Linked DNA regions of Homo sapiens: region 1 is linked to region 2. The links are contacts of gene promoters, found by promoter capture Hi-C in human tissues and cell types (Jung and others, 2019). All regions are on one chromosome and are shown on one strand. Each heading gives the region's core, a stretch centred on a gene start or on the middle of the fragment in contact. The rest is flanking DNA. Distances are from core to core; before and after follow the strand shown.

The links. The method cuts DNA at HindIII sites, captures the fragments that hold promoters and counts their contacts. A contact is called where the count stands out against the background at its distance.
Region 1: a fragment that was not itself captured here is called in contact with the fragment with the promoter of PSMD3 in region 2 in 10 of the 25 tissues and cell types used here (H1 embryonic stem cells, IMR-90 fibroblasts, aorta and 7 more).

Annotation. Positions count from the first base shown.
Region 1 is chr17:40,073,112-40,076,810 of GRCh38, reverse strand. It overlaps THRA (thyroid hormone receptor alpha), which reads right to left. Exons shown (of 9, transcript NM_199334.5): 2 at 2,270-2,619. The coding sequence starts at 2,322. Among named protein-coding and RNA genes, the nearest start is that of THRA, 12 kb to the right of the region's middle. RefSeq lists enhancers at 969-1,048, 1,172-2,027. The HindIII fragment of the contact is 5,644 bases long and covers 1-3,699 here.
Region 2 is chr17:39,978,888-39,982,803 of GRCh38, reverse strand. It overlaps PSMD3 (proteasome 26S subunit, non-ATPase 3), which reads right to left and starts at 1,997. Exons shown (of 12, transcript NM_002809.4): 1 at 1,614-1,997. The coding sequence starts at 1,833. RefSeq lists a silencer at 1,657-1,706 and enhancers at 1,109-2,086, 1,887-2,166, 2,387-2,566, 2,988-3,916. The HindIII fragment of the contact is 7,545 bases long and covers 1-3,916 here.

The sequences.
Region 1 (3,699 bases), core at 307-2,806, 94 kb before region 2:
CGAGAGGCTTATGCAATCCCCCAAGGCCTGATTCTTTCCATTTTGTGTCCTCATTCTACCTCCCACCCCCCAGGGTCAGCTGACAATGCTTAAAAGGGTCCAGTTATCTGGAAGTTGCAGGGGAGAGAGATAAGGGGCTTGGCTGTGGCACAAGCATATTCTAGAGCCCCAACACACACACATTCACCCGCCAGAAGACCTGAAGCACCCATAATCTGCAGGACATCCTCATCTTTCAGTACATGACGAATACGCTGGAAGAATTCTCAGGATATGCTTAAAGCTATGTAGCCTTTAGAACACACACATACATATGCAACATAACACCGGCACAGATGAATAACCATGCAACCTTCACTATAAACCCATGGATGGTGAGTATGCACCAGGGCCAACATACCTGTGAAATTTTCAGGGCATTCTTAAATGTGCTATACAACCTCTAGGATATGCCCATGTGTTACACAACACTCTGCACAGGCACCTCATAAAACCACCCTCATCCCTCCAGTGTGCACGTGTTGCTTGAGCTCCAGGTCATACACACATGCTAAATAACCCACAGCAATAGAAAACACTACACCCTCTGCACAGCCTCCATTTAACAGAGCAGCAAACTGAGACCCTGCTTGTGCCTGGTGACACCATGAGCTAGAGTCAGAGCCGGGACTGAGCCCCTCTGTGCAGCGTATTATTAGCAACCCTCAGCCACTGCACATATATGTTGCCAGGCTCTCCACATACATGTTGCATAACCTCGGTGCACACAGGTTACATAAGCCCTCTACATGCATGCAAGGATTGTATAACCTCCCGCACCCACCCTGCGTGTGGCATGTTGCAGGCCCCTTCCTCCTGGAGCCGGATGCAGCTCCCAACACACTGACACAGTGACCTTGGCCAGGGTCACAGTCACAGACAACCCTATGCTCCACGCCCCGTGGGGATTACTCCGGTCTACTTCCTATGAGGCTGAAAGGTCAGGTCTCCCTCACGCCTCCCAGAGGGTTGGGTGCAGGGGAACTCAGCCCACCTAGGCCCCAGTTGAGCTAGCGGCTTCAGCAGTTACCACCAGACTCACAGCCTCTGAGTGTAGTCCTAGAGATAGCCACAAGGTGGCGCATAGACATGGGGGAGGGGAAGGTGATGGGGGAGGGGTTGCAGTCTTAGGAGACTGGGAACTGGCATTCCTGCCTTTCTCCAAACATTAAGCACAGACTCTTCCAGACCCACAGAAGCCTAAGCTGGGAGACACAGGGGCTGCAAGTGACAGCCACACAGCGACAGGCCAGATCGTCCTCAGAGTCCTTCCTGGGGTGAGGCTTTGGGGGAGGGGAGCTACCCCATGCCCTGCCCAGCTGTGAGTTCCATCTACTTCCTCTACCCTCCAGGGACCCAGTTGTGGGCCTTAGGGCTTTGCCTGGCCAGGCCTCTGGCTTCCTGGCTCGGGATCTGATCTCCTAGGCAACAGTCAGCCACACTGCTCCCCGGAGCACCCCCACCCCCACCCTCTCCCTGGCCATAGGCACAGGCTGTACCCAGCTCCCAGGGCACCGTGCCAACTGGGACAAAGCTCTGTGCCACTTGGAGCTGATAGAAAAGACAGAGACCCTCTGGGCTCCTCAAGGGCAATGCAGATCACAGGTAACCATCCCTTGGTGTATGTGCAGGGCTGACACCTCACCCATGTGGAAGCAAAACCATCATGGTTGGCGTGCACTTTCTGGGAGGAGCCCCATCGCAGTGCCCGCCCTTGACCATGAACAAGGAAGAGCTTGTGGGGCTCCCAATAGATTCCGAATATAAGCTTGGGCTATGACCAATAGTTACTGGTGCATGTGCCCTGAAATGTATTACGTGAACCGCAGCTTGTGGACAACACACTTGTGGTCAGATAGTAAATGGGCTGGTAGGGAGAGGAAGAAAATGGCAAGGCTGTTTGGATCCCACATGCTCAAGGTAAGGGCAGCAATGGTGGAAGGGACGTTGGGGGCATCTGAGACTGCCCAGCAATGTCTAGGGAAGAGCCCCTTATGTGCTCCCTGTAATTGCTCTGTATCGCTCCCCGCTTCAAAATGAGCATCTCTCAATCCAAGTGCCTGTCACATCTGAACATGACTTCATCTGCCAGACAAAGGTAGGCAGAAGGCTTGCTGGCCTCACGTCCATCCCACAGAGGTGCTTAAAGGCGGTGCCTAAAGGAGAGCTCAGCCAGGTGCCCATGCCTGCTGCTTAGGAGTTGGCATGACCTAGTTGCTGAACCCATTACCTGTTCTCCTCTGGGTCTGACCCACACTCCACCTTGCTTGGCTTCTGTTCCATTCACTTCAATTCCATCCAGGATGCCCTCCAGCACGCCAAGAGACTGGGGTGGGCACACTGGCCCCCCCGGCACACCCACAGGCCACCCACCCCCTGCCACCCAGGCCCTAGGGCACAGCACCCATGATACCCGCCTCAGCACTTGGCCTTTCACACCATGCCCTGCGCCCCAAGGGGGGCGGGCGGTGGGAGGGGCCAGGGAGTGGCAGGTGGGAGGGCTGGGGGCAAGCTGGGTTTGTGGGTCCCGGGCTGTGTGCTGGGGGAGTAGCTTCGGAGTCTTGTCCTGTCCAGAGATCCCTGTGGAGAGAAGAGAGAGGCAGGGGTAAGAAGGTGTCACGGTAGGAAGGTGGGTAGGATCCCTTTGGTGGCAACATTTGGGGCTTTGGGATCCCATAACAAGACAGCAGGGGGCAGGAAGGGCAGGCATAGAGAGGGGACCAGGATGATCCCTTAGATAACAGGTACAGCAGGCGAGATTGGAGATCCACCTCCTAAGCCCCAGACATGGGAAGGAATGGAGGGAGAGAATGAGATCATTCATGTACTAAGTAATATGTCTCAGTCTTCATATTCAGACAAATGCCTGGCCCTTAATGAGCAACTATTAAACACTAGCTATTGTTACCACCCCTCTAGAAAAGCTTTCCTGAAACTCATCTGTATTATAGGGGCAAGAGGGGACCAGAGACAAGCAGTTTTCAGCATAGGCAGGGAGGGTATCTGTGAAGGAAGGATGGGACATAGAGCGGCACGCAGTGAGCATGAATGCCCATCTTTGTGCCTTAATAGAGAGAGATGTTGAAAGCTGTAGGGAACTGACCTCCCATGCTGCCAGCCAAGTTATGATCCCCAACTCTGGCCCCTCAGGGACTCCAGAGCTTCCCACGCAAGGTCTCGAATCCCACTTCCCAGGCAGAGGACCAGACTTCTCAGTTGGTTTAGCTGAGCTGCTATCGACCAGGATGGCAAGGGGGAAAGGAAAGGAAACTAACACATATTAACTGGAGAGAGAATCTGTACCCTCCAAAGAGGGCACGAGAACTTCACAGATGAGGAAACTGAGTCTCAGAAAGCTTGGTCATTCACTCAAGTTCACACAACTAGTAAGCAGGTGGCTGTGGGATAAGCCTCACAGCCTGGCCCTAATGCTAGCCTTGTTCTGCTACCTGGAGTCCAGGGCAGTGCCAAGCCGGGCCCACCATTCCTACGGCATTGCACCTCTGACCCTGGGCTGCAGACCTGTGGCTTACTGTCTGTGTGCACACAGGCAGGTGTGGCGGGTAGGAGGGGGACAAAGGGTACAGCTCCCCAACATACGACCTCAACCTCTGTCACGTGGCTGCTGCATAGGAGACCTCACCCCTAGGCCCCCTGGCC
Region 2 (3,916 bases), core at 748-3,247:
AATGCAAAGCAATAAGGGAATGCAATCAATGAGTAGTTTCTTAGGCACTTCTGTATATTCACCGATTAGCACAGGGTATCTGGGCCACACTAATGATATAAATAATAACAGCTGATATTTATGTGCTAGGCACAGTTTTAAGCATTTTAATGTTCACAACAACCCAATAAAGTACTGTACTATTACTTGTATTTATACAGATGAGGGAACTAATTCCAGAACTTGTACTCTTAACCATTATATTGGGTATTCAATAAATGTTTCTGGAATAAATTGAATGCTGATTATGTTTACGAATGTTAATGAAAACACATAAAATTCAAAATTTATATTTAGTTATGCCTTGATACAAACTGTATACATAACTTGCTCTCAATTATAGGAGAACAGCTCAAAAATTCACAAGAAAAAATGTTAACCATGTTTTTTATCCCCTGCTTTTAACTTCTCATACATTCCACAATTTCTGCAATGAATATGAATTACTTTACAAGAAGAAAATGAAGTGCCTGTAATAAACACACCCAGTAGGCAATGCTGAGTGGCACCTTTGACATTGCTGCCACTACTTTAGGTAAAAGGATCTCTATTAAATATCGATCCTGTTGCTCAACTTTACAGTAAGAGCTGATGTAGTCAACACCATCACATCCTCAAAAGCACCACCTAGGAGGATAACTTTGCTTATCTCAATGTTTTTGAGCTAGTTTCTCACGCATTTTAGTGAAAAGAAAACCTAGTAAGTAGTCTGGTCCCACTTGATCCAGAACCAGGAAAATGGCACCAGGATCACAGTGGGAAGCTCTCACTTTGCCCACTTCAAATGGAAACAGGACGCTGTAAGTGGGAAAAGTAAAACATGAACTTGGAGGAACAAGAGGACTACAGACACTCGAAACAGGAACCTCGGAGAAAAGAAATAGGAGACACCGGTATATAGGAGTTTAGGCCAAAGGTTGAGTATTACAAAACCAAACAAAGATGACACCCGAAAAGTTTTAAGTGTGTATGTACTTAAACCCTTTAGAAACAGAGGGGCAGTAAGGACCTGAAGGGAGGAGACAGCAAGGGGACTGTTGGGACACTTCAGTTAGAGAAGTAGGAAACAAGATACTAGGTCGAAATGGTTCATTCGGGGGAGTGTGCTAAAGGCAGCTAGGACAACAAAAATCTGCTGTACAGTTTTAAAACTCAGGAGTCAATATTCTAGGTCATCCTGGCCCTGTTTACACACAGACACAAACACTGGTTTCCAGCGGGAACAATCAGTCATATATTGGAGGCGCTAAAATCAGTCGGGTGGGATATAAACGGAATAGGTCAGAGGGGAGGACTTAAAAGAGGGAGTCCCCAGGCCCACTGGGACCTAGATATAGATGCAACCCCAGATATGGGGATGGAGGGGATGGGAGGGGAGTGGTTCCCAGCCTGGAGAGAAGGTTCAGTCATTGGGCCTGGAGTCGGGAGTGTCGGGGCAGTGGGAGCAGGTATCTGGGGGTGATCCCAAAGAACTGAGGGTGGTGGAGGCTGCTGTGGCTTCCCAGCAAGAAGCCAAATCACAGGGGTCGCTGTCACCCGCGATCGCGGCACGTTCCCGGCCTGGGCTGCCGTACCCTCCAAGGTGACTGTGTCCAGCTCTCGCTGGGAGTGCTCAGCCGCTGCCGCCGCCGTCTTGCCGTCTGCCTCCCCCGTCGACCCGCCACCCGTCGCTGCCTCCTCTTTCATCTCCACATCCTGGGGGGCCGGCGGCGGTGGGGGTTCTTGTTCTCCTCCGCCGGGCGGCGGTTTCGCCTTGTCCGCGCCGCGGCGCCGCGCCGAGCCCTCCTGCTTCATGGCACCCGGGGTCACGGCCTAGTCCGGGGACCGAGGCCGGGGCCTCGCGTTAACCCTCGCACCGGGGACCAGGAGCCGAGCCGGGCCTGCACACGAGCGCGAGATAGCGTCGGGCCGCACGATGACGGAGCAGCTGCAAACCCCTTCCCGGCGCTGGGCCTTCTGGGAAACGCCAGGCCCGGCAGGCCGATGGCCGAGTCAACAAAGGGGAAATAAATCCACAGCCGAGGTGCAGGATGAAGGAGGAGCTTCGAGGAAGGAGCGGGGAGGAGCCTTTATGGGTTCGTGGGGCTTTCTTTCGAGCGCTTAAGTGTGATGCTTTTATGTTCCTCTCGAGTGCATTTCTGTGGGCGTCCACGAGAGGTCCCCTCAGGCTCCAATCTGGGTTACAAAGGACTTTAAGAGCGCCTCAACCAGCGTGGAGTGGGTACAGCCTATCCGAGCGCGGGACGAGATGACGTCACGAGTTGCCGGGCGGGTTTTGCGCCCAAGTTCGCTCAATTTTCCCCGGTCGCGGCGGGGTCTCCTTCCAGATCCGCTGGGCTTGTGCTCAACGGCTGCCGGGCGCATCCGGCAGGAGGGAAGGAAAGAAGGCTGTGAAGGAGGGACGTGAAGCTAGGGCTGTTGGCCTTAAAATAAACCGAACTGGAGAGTAGGAAGAACCCTATGGGATCCGGACTTCCTTGGTTAGATTTGAGTTTAGTGCTGAACATAAGGCATACAATTTCTGCAGGCTGGGAGTGCCGATAGGTAGGAGCGTGCATTTGCGTAGAATCACTCCAGTTTAACAAAATATAGGGGTCCACCCTATGTACGGCCCACGGTTAGCAAATAGGGGGGTGAAAAACAGCTCAAGAATGTAGTATACGGGGGAGTCAGATGGTTAGATAAGCAGACACTGTGCTCTGGGCTGCGGTGGATTGGGAGTGTTGAGGAAAGAGGGTGGGAGCCCCTACTGGCAGACGCTTTAGGGAGCCCATTGAGAGGGCTTTTATACATCCAGACAGACATTGTGAAATGGGGAACAGAATAATGGTGTGCCTAAGGAGAGAATGATGGTTTACTTAGTGGTGTACCTAAGGGGAAGCAAATTGGACAAGAAACCCTACCCACTTATTTTTCAAAGGACTGCCCCACTGGTTCTGCAGGGAAGGTGAAACAAGGTGAAGGATATAGCTCCCAATTTCTTAGAACACACAACAAAAACTCTCTCCCTACCTTGAAACTTTTCTCTCTCCCATAAGTGGAAGTCCTGAGTTTTAGACCTTTCACGGACCCTACAAGACAATCTAGCCCTGTTGTAAGGACCTAGAAGGCAGGAAATATGTTTTGACCTCCTCCTTTGCATATATAAAGGGTATCCTGCATATCTTTTGCATCCTCTTTCATAGGATTGCAGGATGTTCCTTGCGTTAAACAGCCACTCGCTAACTGGAAAGATATGTGCTCTAGTTTTAGGGAACATGCCTTGACCAGTTCCTCCTCAACTGTCCTCTCACCCTCCAGGGCTGGGGGGTGGATAACAGGACTTTTGAATCATCATTGGAATAAACTCATTAGAACCTCTTCATAACACCATATCTGCAACTGAAGGTGGGCGAGAATGGTAAGGAAGAAAACAGATGAGTTATGTTCATCCTTAACAATCAAAGGAGTTACTCTTCTAGATAGTTAGGGTGTTAGCTCATCTCTCTATTAAGTTTACATCACAAGGAGAAAACAACCAAGTCAGCAGATAACAACCCAGTATATCCATGAGCAATAGAGTGAGGCTTTGGAAGGTGCTCAGGATCAGGGAGGCTGGCGGCATAACACAAAGCTTCTGGCAGTTGGTCATGAATTCTTGGTGGATGAGGGAACCAGGCTGGGCAGGGGGTGACTAAGACACTGGGGGAGAGTCTGACTCCACGGACCAAAATCCTTAGAGAAATTCTTCCACTCATAAAACTTTTTTTTTTTTTTAAACGGAATCTCGTTCTGTTGGCCAGGCTAGGGAGTACAGTGTCGTGATCTTGGCTCACTGCAACCTCCCCCTCTGGGGTTCAAGCGATTCTCCTGCCTCCTTCTCCTGAGTAGCTGGGAC